3 separate regions of the Homo sapiens genome follow, and all the other regions are linked to region 3. The links are contacts of gene promoters, found by promoter capture Hi-C in blood cells and fetal thymus (Javierre and others, 2016). All regions are on one chromosome and are shown on one strand. Each heading gives the region's core, a stretch centred on a gene start or on the middle of the fragment in contact. The rest is flanking DNA. Distances are from core to core; before and after follow the strand shown.

Region 1 (3,414 bases), core at 742-3,241, 270 kb before region 3:
GGTAGATTGTTTCCAAAGATGACCCAAAAACTCCTCCCATGGCACACGCCCTTTGTGGTGTTACTTTGCCACTCTTCCCATTAAGAAGTAGACTATTCCTCCTGGTGAATCCAGGGTGGCTCTGAGTCTTACTCTGACCAACAAGAAGTGATGCTCACAGGCCTAGGCCTAAGGGACCTCACAGCTTCTATTTTTGCGCACTTTGTTGTCAACCACCAAGTCAAGAAGCTGGAGCTAAACTACTGACTCATAAGAGGCCAGTGTGAAAAGAGAGGTCATGCAGAGAAGAAATGAAGGACCCAGCCAATAGCTACCACTGACACCCTAGACATGTGAGTGAAGCCATCTTGAATCTTTCAGCCCTAGCCAAGCCAGTGCTGGTGATGTTCTTCTATATCTGTGTGACTGTCCAATATGGCAGTCACTAGCCACATACAGGGCTACTGAATCCTTGGAATGTGGCTAGGGCATCTGAAGAACTTCATTTTTAATTTCATTTTAACTTAAACTTTAAATAGCTAATGGCTACTTTCCAGGCCAGTGTAAAAGTCTGTTACCACTCAAGTCATCCAGCATAATCCCGCTAAAGCAACTGGGCACAGGGCAGCCAAAAATCATCTTAGCACCTGCCCTTTAGGGGCTATAAGTATATATACAGTGACAAGACAAGGCGGTGGAGAAGGATGCAGTGTAGCTCTGTCAGCCTTGTTTTTAAAAATGAAAGAAAAAATATCTCCCTCTAACATCACCCAAAGGGAAATTTCCAAGCAATGGAATATATCATGATTCTCACATCTAGCCTAGAGAGCTCCTGACTAGAAAAGTAACTTTCAAAAACTGTTTCCTCATCTGCTGAAAAACAAAATTTAAACAGTCCCCTGGTTCACTCTTTTTGGGGGGAGAAGGGGAGCAGAAAGGAAATATGAGAGAGTCTACATTGCATGCTAGACACGGCCACATTTATAATACATCGAATTCTCTTAATCCTTTTTTTTCAAACTAAGCGAACATAAGTTCAGAGAGGTAATTTGCCAAGGACCTATGACTAGTTAGTGCTAAAGATAAAATTCAAAACCAGGCCTCTGAATTTCCGACCCCCTACTCTTCCCACCACAGCGGAATGCCTCACCTATCAAAAATAAAAATTTCTAATGGCCTATTGAGCTTTTCCATGATCTCTTCACCTAAGTAACTATTTCCAATTAATGCCTTCTTAGCAGACTGATCCCATTTTTCCTCCCTTCACTTTCCTATACTTCTTTTTCCTCTAATTTTACCCATCCTTCAAACTCCATTTTAAACTTTTTTTTCCTTCCATAGAACTTTCCTTATCTTATCACAATTGCCCTCTCTGAATTTTTATATTACTTATAATAGGCACCATATAATATAGCGTTCTCTGTTACACTGCTTTTCCCTTAAATAGACCTTAATCTCCTTGAAGACAGAAGCTATCCTATGTCTTTGGGGAGTGGCAATCTTTCCAAATTTCTTTAGCTTTCCCCCAGAGCCGTGAGTAGATACTTCTGGAATGGACGAATGATCTAAACTCAATAGACAAATACTTGTTGATTCATTAAAGACAGCCCCAAACTCTGCTGTTTCACCCTTTGCTTCATAATCTACAGCACACCAATTAATCCAAAAGGGCTGAGGGGCTAATCCACACTGCAGCCCCGCCACGTAACGCTACCCGCCCGCGCTGTCACGCCACGCCCAGCCTGCTGGTTGCAGATTTGGCGTAGCCCAACCCTGGGACGGCCGATTGGGCGTGGTGTGCGTGGCTGAAGGCGTGGCTGAGAAGAGAAACCTACGCTTTGGGTCAGACTCGGTAGCTTCCGGTAATCTTCGACAATTTCCGGCAACGGTTTTCTCTCTCGTCGACCAACCTCGGGTATTTCCGACTCCCTTCGGGCTTTTCCGTCTGGTTCCCGCTCGGCTTTCTCCACTTCGGGTATTCCCGTGTCCCGCTCGGAAGCACTCGGCAATCGCTCGGCCTCCCCCATCCCCCGGTAACGGTCGCTGGTGAGTTTAAATGAGCAGGGGCTGGCCGGGCCGGAGCCGCTACAGGGGGGGCCTGAGGCACTGCAGAAAGTGGGCCTGAGCCTCGAGGATGACGGTGCTGCAGGAACCCGTCCAGGTAATGATAACCTTCTTCTCTGGGGCTTGGCTGGCAGCCTCGGTCGGGAAGCAGCAGCGTAGGGCCACTCCGCGGCCTGGTGCGGCCTAGGCCCGGCTGCTTCTCCCGCCTCCCCTGCTGCCGTGTCCTGCCTATCTTTAGTCAGTTCGGAGGCCTTGCCCACAGCCTAAGCCGTGTTACCTCTGGCCCTACATTACTTCACCCTTAGCGTGAGCGGCTTCGGCGAAAATAACCGCCTTTCCCGTCCGAGCCAACGTCCGGCCAGCCTTTCCTGTCAGTCCAGGGGCCTGGCTTGACTGGGGGTGGGAGATGAGGGGCCGAAAATGCACCCCAAGCGCTCTCTTGCCTAAAAGATGATCGAGAAGCACATTTGATCGGAGCTTGTGTGATCTTCGTGACGGTAGGGCAAGTTTACGGAGGTTTTTTTTATTTTGTCTTGTATGAGAGGGTGGAGGGAGCGTAGGATCGGTCTTTTTAATACTAATTTCTATTTTGGTAACAGACTTCCTATCCCACGTTTCCTTTCTCGGTGAATTTCCCACCGGACAATGATGGTTTGAGAAGACAACTCCAAGCCTCAGTGCTGAGGCGCAAGCACCAATACCAGGGGAGGAGGTGGAAAGGGCACATTTGGGTTGTTTTCATCCTCTCTGATGGGGATCAGGAGCATTTTGTTGTGCATGTTTATAAGGCATTCAGGAAATGAAACACAAATAATGGTGTTTCTGTCCATTTCACTGCCTTTACACCAGGGTATGCTTTGACGCACAGTGCTGTGTTGCATTAAAGGAACCCTATTGGATTTTAAGTGTGTGATGCGGTGCCAAGTCATTTTCCCCCCTGACATCTGGAGAAACTGTATCTTTTGTGCCTTGGTAATGGACCAGGTCTGGGAGACTTCATCCCACTATATGATCTTTAACTTGATCAGAATTGACCTCTATCAACTGCTGTCATTGAGTCATGGACTTTATTTTGAAGTTATAAAGCAAACTGATTTTTAGAAATTCCTTCATATTGCCCTTAAAAGGCTTGAGGTATCAAACAGTAAATATTTTAATATATCACTACTTTCATATTTATTTCATTTTTCTAAACAGCATGAAATACTCATTTCTTCTAGTTTGGTTTTTTTCTCCAGCTGTTTACATATAGCAGCTATTAGTGTTTGAATTAATAAAACGTAAGATTATATCTTATGAAATTTACCTGTCTGTAAGTTGTATTAGTTTTTCTAGAGCTATTTCCATCCAAATTCTTTTTACCAGTATAGT
Region 2 (3,174 bases), core at 376-2,875, 400 kb before region 3:
ATCCATTCACCTTTCTATCCATGAATTCAACGTATATGTCTGCATGCTTAGTGTGCACTAGGTTCTCTCCTAGGCTCTAGGGATATACCAATGAACAAAATATATATATGCTATATATATATATATATATATATATATATATATATATATTTTGTTTATATATATATAAAATCTGCCCTCATGAAGCTTATGTTCTAGTCAGGGAGTGAAATAATAAAATAGAAAAATAAAACATATTGTATGTTATCTGCAATAAGTACAAAAAAAAAAGTAAAGCAGGGAGGGGAATATGAAATGTAGTATAGGGGAAGAGATGCAGGGAACAGAATGGGTGGCCAAGGAAGACCTTACTGAGAGGGAGACTTTTGAGTACAGACCTGCAAGAACTGAAGTAGGGAGCTGATTAATATCTTAGGGAAGAGCATTTCAGCCAGAAAGAAAAGTAAGTACAAAAGCCCCGAGGCAAGAAGAATGTTCAAGGAATAGTGGGAAGGCCCCAGGAGGCTGAAGCAGGAGAGATCAGAGAGGCTAAGTGAAAGTGGCATATCATGGAGGACCCCTAGATGACAGTAAGAACTGTGGCTTGTACTCTGAAGGAGTGACAAGCATTGAAAGAGTTCTGAGGAGAAGGATTACATAATCTGAAGTTCTTTCTGAAAGGATCACTCTGGTTACTGTGAGGAGGGAAATCAGGTAGGTCTGGGTTCCTGAATGCCAAGTGAAGAAAGTACTTCAAGAGTGAGCAATCAGGCTGTGCATGGTGGCTTATGCAGGTAATCCCAACACTTTGATGCGGGGGTGGGGGTCTAAGCAGGAGGGCTGCTTAAGGCCAGGAGTTCAAGACCAGCCTGGGCAACAGTGAAACTCCCACCTCTACAGAATTTTTTTTTTAATCAGCTGGACATGGCGACCTTAGTCCCAGCTACTCCAAAGACTGAGCCAGGAGGATCTTTTGAGCCCAGGAGTTTGAAGCTGCAGTGGGCTATGATTGCACCACTGCACTCCAGCCTGGACGACAGAGACCTTGTCTCAAAAAAAAAAAAGGGGGGTGGGGTGGGCGGTTAAGATCAGTACTGAATGGTTCGCTAGGTTTCACAACACGGAGGACACTGACAAACTTGAAAGGAGCCATCTGGGTGGGGTGGTAAGGAGACAATGTCGTCAGAGTGAGTACAAGAGAGAACGGGGTAAAGAAATTGAACCCAGCCAGTAGGGTAGGCTCTTTCAAGGAGTTACGTTGTTAAGAGAAATAAGGCAGTAGCTGAGAGGAAAATGGGGCTGTGAGGCTTTAAGATGAGAAAAACAAAGGCGTCTTCACTGAAGCATGACTCTGTATGACATCCTTTCACAAAATACCTTCCTCTTTCCTCTCATGCCACATTTCCCTCACAAGCCGCCCGACTCGCTCGCTTTTCTCTCGCCAGAGGGACTGAAAACGTCATTAATACCAACTGCATACACAACTCCATTGCAGCTACTGCCATTCATGAACGTTCAAACTTTCGTCACCCTGTTTTCATATTTGTGTAACAAACGTCGAGTGAACGAACCTCCACCTCTTCCAAGAACCCACGCTGAGGAGGCTTCCCATAGACCCTGCTCTTACGAAGCCAACGACTTCTACAGGAAGAAAGAGGACCTGTAAGCTAGCGAGTGAACGACCCGCAAGATGGAAATGAGTGTGCTAATAGAGGTCTCCGCCTCCCGCTGAAGGAGCAGGGAAGTGACACCACCCCCGGGACCGCCAGCCTTCTACAACAACCACCATTTCTGAGGAACCACCTGATCAGTCTCAGTCACCCTTCAATCTGCCCCTTTGTCCCACTCAGTCCCCTCACTGTTCCTTTCTGGAACCTTCCTTCACCCAGCCCCACCACTGTTCTCCTTCCTCCCTCGCACCCTACTGCATTCTCCACCCTCCACCTCGAAGGCTCCCCTCCCAACTCCTCAGCGGGTCTCGCCTCCCCTCCCCACCTCTGTCCCCCAAGGGTCCCACTACCGGCCCGAGCTGCCCTCCCTTCCTCTCGGCTGGAGGCCCCCGCGCTCTCTGTGGTCAGCCCCTGCCGCCCCTCGGGCGGCGCTGCTCTAGCTCTGCAGCCTTCCCAGGATCCCGCGCCGCGCGGCCCCGCCCCCGCGGTCACCTGACCGAGCCCGACGCTCCGCCCACCGACCACCCCGAGCGGAGCGGGCCCAGGACCCTATCGGCTGTCGAGCCGGTGCTGCCGCGGCCACCGCCACCGCCCAGGGGCTCCGGGGCTGTGGGGAGCGGCTGAACTCAATACCGCCTCCGCGCTGACTGGAAGGCACTGCGGCCGCGCCTGCCTGCCCCACCTCGTAAGGGCCTGTGACCTCACGAGGCCAGCCGCCGGGCGCTGCATTCGAGCGGTGGGGCTCCTGTCCGTGCGCTTTCCTCCCGCAGCCCCGGCCGGGATTCCGCCCTCCGTCCTTGCCACCCGCTCGCCACTCTTCCCTAATCGCTGTTCATTCTCCGGTGCGCTGTCCCGCCATGGTCTGACCCCACTTCAATCTTACCTTCGGTCCGTCCTTTGAACACCCCGACCCCCGACCCCTTTCTTCCAAAACATTCCATCCTTCTTGGCTTCTGCTACTCAATAATGGACAGCAGCTCGAAGGCCATGTGTCCCACGGCTTTGCTGAAATTTGTCTCGGGTTGCCTTTAAGGAGACTGTCGTTTCCTTTTGAAAGAGATACTTTGGTTGGTTTGGTTTTCTTCTGTGTGTTTGTTTTTCCTATGTATTTATCGTATGCAGTTGGGCAAAATACTTAACGCTCCCTGAGTCTCGATTTTCTCATTCTTCCAGGGTTGTGGGAATTCAAAAATATATACGTAGTGCTCAATAAATGTTACAATATTTAATCCCTTCCGTGATACTACTGTGTTCATTTACATCTTAAACCTTGCTTTGTAGGCATTCTTTAATATTTTATTTAGATTTTTATTATTATTAAATATATGTACAAATCATAATTGTAAATATTTAATGGGGTACAATGTTATATTTTAATATATGTATACAATATGGAACGACTAAGTCAAGCTTAACATATCCATCACCTTGTTTAACGTTTTTTATGGTGAGACATTTGAAATTTACTCTTAGCAGTTTTGAGATATACGATATATTATTATTAGCTATAGTCACCACACTATGC
Region 3 (3,644 bases), core at 543-3,042:
GAATATAAAATGGGTCATGGCCTTCTTGGCAACATCCTTTAACTAAATTAACTAGATAAGACCATACATAACAGATTAACTTCAAGGCACTACTATGCCCATTGTGCCCTGCTATTGTGAAAGATAGGCCCTTTCTTAGTAACATGAACATAATTTCGTTTCATTCTTTCTCTAAATTACTCACAGACTAGTTTTAAGTCCCTTCCTATAACGTTTATGTGAGAATAGGGCTCCCCAGTGTAAAAGAAAATTCTGTCATTACAAAGTAGGTTCTGTATTTTCGCCTGTCCAAATGAAACACCTCATCGCCAAAATAAAAGAAACCCATAAACTTAGAAAATGAAAGAGAAAGAGGATCATCACCCTCTTATTCCTCATGCTTCAGGGCATTTCATTTCCAGGCCTTGGGAGTGTGATTTTAAGTGTTTTAATCAACAAAACTACAGCATAAGTTTGAAAGTTCTCAATAGGATAGGTATATACCTCAAAAAATTGAGAAGAGAAACTAAAACAGATACTTCTACACCAGAGTTCATAGCAGTATTATTCTCAACAGCCCAATGGTGGAAACAACTCAAGTGTCCATCAACAGATGAATGGATAACAAAATGTGGTAGACACATAAAACGGAATATTATTCCGTCATAAAACAGAATGAAATTCTGGTAACAGGCTACAATATAGATGAACCCTGAAAACATTAAGTGAAATAAGCCAGATACAAAAGGACAAATTCTGTATGACTCCACTTATATTAAGTATCTAGAATAGGTAAACTCATAGAGAGAAGTAAAACAGAGGTTACTAGGTGTTCTGGAAGGAAGAAATGAAGTGCTACTGATTAACAGGCACACTGGGATGATGAAAAAGTTCTGGAAATGGATCGTAGTGATGTAAGTTGTGAATGTACTCAATGTCACTGAATTGTACACTTAAAAATTGTTAAAACAGTAAATCTTATGTTGTGTATATTTTACAATAAAAAATAAAAATCATAAAATTCCGTCCCTCCAAAACAGGGTAAAAATCATAATTCTGCCCCCCGCCCCCAAAAATAGGGTAAGTATGGCCCCATTAATACTCAACTACGTATCTCAGCAATTCCGAAAGTGCAGGACGATGCGAATAAAGGACACTACCAAGGAATTTAAGTTATGAGAAACTAAATTACAATTTGATTTTCTTAGCGATAACCTGTAACCAGATACGATTAACAAGTAATAATAGTGAATGCTACGTGGACAGCAATTTCTTTGTACCATAAAAATGTGGTCTTTAGTATAAATCGAATAAGAATACAAATACTTTCCCGTACGTGCCCTGACTCTCCAATTAAACAGTACACTCCTACGGCCAGGGGCCGTGTCTCCTACTCCGTGTCTCCTCTCGAGGTCTACCAACCAGGAGCACCGAGTTGACAAGTGCTGGACAAAGTTTTATAACCTGCAGGTGCCAGTTTCCCGTCACCCAGTCTACCCAGCAGGTAGTCACGAACTTGCAGACCCCAGGAGTCATCTGCCCCACGTCTCCAGGCCCCAGCCTGAACCCACTGTCTGTGGCTGACCTGGGAGTCCCGCCAAGGATTAAGCACTTCGGAGGCATCCCCAGCAGTGCCCTGGCGGAAAAACTCGGCCTCTACCCTGGCTGACGTCCGAGGCCTCAGCCCCAGAAGCCAGGCTCACCTGGCCTCGCCTCGTCTAGCCCCTGCCCGCTCCCCGACCGGCCCTCACTTGTGCGTTTGCTGGAACAGGGGATCCATGTCGCCGGCCCCGCAGGCCACGGCTCCGGCTCTGGCTTCCTCGGAACACGTCCTCACAGCCCCCCTTCCGGTTTCCGGCTTCCGGTCGCAGGACCCTCCCTCCCCTGCCGGCCAGGGCTGCCCGCACGCGCGCCTTACTAGCAGTGGTTGCGAGATCGGAGAAGGGGAAGGAGAAATGAGGCCGGCGACGGAAGGATAAGTGTAGTCACAGGCTCGGCTTCACGTGAAGGGCAAGGCGGTGTACATGTTCGCTGAAGGCTAGCCTCAGGATTCAGTCAGGCGTTAGGAAGGACAATCGCGGGATACTAACGAGAGGTCCTCAGAGCAAAGTTGAAGGCGAGCCGCTATCATCTGCTGTTCTCTGCCGCAGAGAGGACTGGAGGTTCTTGCTTGGCTTCACTTTAAACCATTTAATCGGGGGTCTGGAGATTTCGCTCTTCACTGTTTTTCCTGGCGCAAGCTTTTCCTGTTTCGCATTTGTCTACTCACTCTCCCGCCTATCTACCCCCCATTCCTATTTATCCATCCAGTAAACCTACATTGAATGAGTGGTTATTATGTGTCATGTGTAAAGTAGGGAAAACCGGGTTCCTCCTGCCCTCAAAGAGGTTCTGGTCTGGGAAAGGAAATAAGATATGTATACTCTCAAAAGACAAAATTACAAGAAATGTAGTTATAGATTTTTTTTCTTTATTTTATTATTTTTTATTATTATACTTTAAGTTCTAGGGTACATGTGCACAACGTGCAGGGTTGTTACATATGTATACATGTGCCATGTTGGTGTGCTGCACCCATTAACTCGTCATTTACATTAGGTATATCTCCTAATGCTATCCCTTCCCCCTCTCCCCACCCCACAACAGGCCCCGAAGTGTGATGTCCCCCTTCCTGTGTCCAAGTGTTCTCATCGTTCAGTTCCCACCTATGAGTGAGAACATGTAATGTTTGTTTTTTTGTCCTTGCGATAGTTTGCTGAGAATGTTGGTTTCCAGCTTCATCCGTGTCCCTACAAAGGACATGAACTCATCATTTTTTATGGCTGCATAGTATTCCATGGTGTATATATGCCACATTTTCTTAATCCAGTCTGTCATTGTTGGACATTTGGGTTGGTTCCAGGTCTTTGCTATTGTGAATAGTGCTGCAATAAACATACATGTAAATGTGTCTTTATAGCAGCATGATTTATAATCCTTTGGGTATATACCCAGTAATGGGATGGCTGGGTCAAATGGTATTTCTAGTTCTAGATCCCTGAGAAATCTCCACACTGTCTTCCACAATGGTTGAACCAGTTAACAGTCCCACCAACAGTGTAAAAGTGTTCTTATTTCTCCACATCCTCTCCAGCAGCTGTTGTTTCCTGACTTTTTAATGGTCGCCATTCTAACTGGTGTGAGATGGTATCTCATTGTGGTTTTGATTTGCATTTCTCTGATGGCCAGTGATGATGAGCATTTTTTCATGTGTCTGTTGGCTGCATAAATGTCTTCTTTTGAGAAGTGTCTGTTCATATCCTTCGCCCACTTGTTGATGGGGTTGTTTGTTTTTTTCTTGTAAATTTGTTTGAGTTCATTGTAGATTCTGGATATTAGCTCTTTGTCAGATGAGTAGATTGCAAAAATTTTCTCCCATTCTGTAGGTTGCCTGTTCACTCTGATGGTAGTTTCTTTTGCTGTGCAGAAGCTCTTTAGTTTAATTAGATCCCATTTGTCAATTTTGGCTTTCGTTGTCATTGCTTTTGGTGTTTTAGACATGAAGTCCTTGCCCATGCCTATGTCCTGAATGGTATTGCCTAGGTTTTCTTCTAGGGTTTTTATGGTTTTAGGTCTAACATGTAAGTCTTTAATCCATCTTGAATTGATTTTTGTATAAGGTGTAA

What was found. The method cuts DNA at HindIII sites, captures the fragments that hold promoters and counts their contacts. A CHiCAGO score of 5 or more calls a contact.
Region 1: the fragment with the promoter of CDC27 here is called in contact with the fragment with the promoter of GOSR2 in region 3 in 13 of 17 cell types (naive CD8 T cells, activated CD4 T cells, naive B cells and 10 more); the score reaches 11.7 in naive CD8 T cells.
Region 2: a fragment that was not itself captured here is called in contact with the fragment with the promoter of GOSR2 in region 3 in 2 of 17 cell types (total CD8 T cells and total B cells); the score reaches 7.0 in total CD8 T cells.

Annotation. Positions count from the first base shown.
Region 1 is chr17:47,187,872-47,191,285 of GRCh38, reverse strand. CDC27 (cell division cycle 27) reads left to right here and starts at 1,991. Exons shown (of 19, transcript NM_001256.6): 1 at 1,991-2,140. The coding sequence starts at 2,114. It also overlaps a transcript of MYL4 not described here. RefSeq lists enhancers at 2,067-2,256, 1,787-2,383 and a silencer at 2,417-2,466. The HindIII fragment of the contact is 9,297 bases long and covers 1-3,414 here.
Region 2 is chr17:47,322,900-47,326,073 of GRCh38, reverse strand. It overlaps EFCAB13 (EF-hand calcium binding domain 13), which reads right to left and starts at 2,119. Exons shown (of 25, transcript NM_152347.5): 1 at 2,000-2,119; 2 at 1,551-1,620. EFCAB13-DT (EFCAB13 divergent transcript) reads left to right here and starts at 2,173. Exons shown (of 3, transcript NR_110880.1): 1 at 2,173-2,385. RefSeq lists enhancers at 1,331-1,510, 1,551-1,640 and a silencer at 1,981-2,390. The HindIII fragment of the contact is 2,873 bases long and covers 189-3,061 here.
Region 3 is chr17:46,921,308-46,924,951 of GRCh38, reverse strand. It overlaps GOSR2 (golgi SNAP receptor complex member 2), which reads right to left and starts at 1,792. Exons shown (of 6, transcript NM_004287.5): 1 at 1,731-1,792. The coding sequence starts at 1,759. GOSR2-DT (GOSR2 divergent transcript) reads left to right here and starts at 2,081. Exons shown (of 3, transcript NR_186460.1): 1 at 2,081-2,141. It also overlaps a transcript of LRRC37A2 not described here. RefSeq lists an enhancer at 1,092-1,816. The HindIII fragment of the contact is 7,846 bases long and covers 1-2,221 here.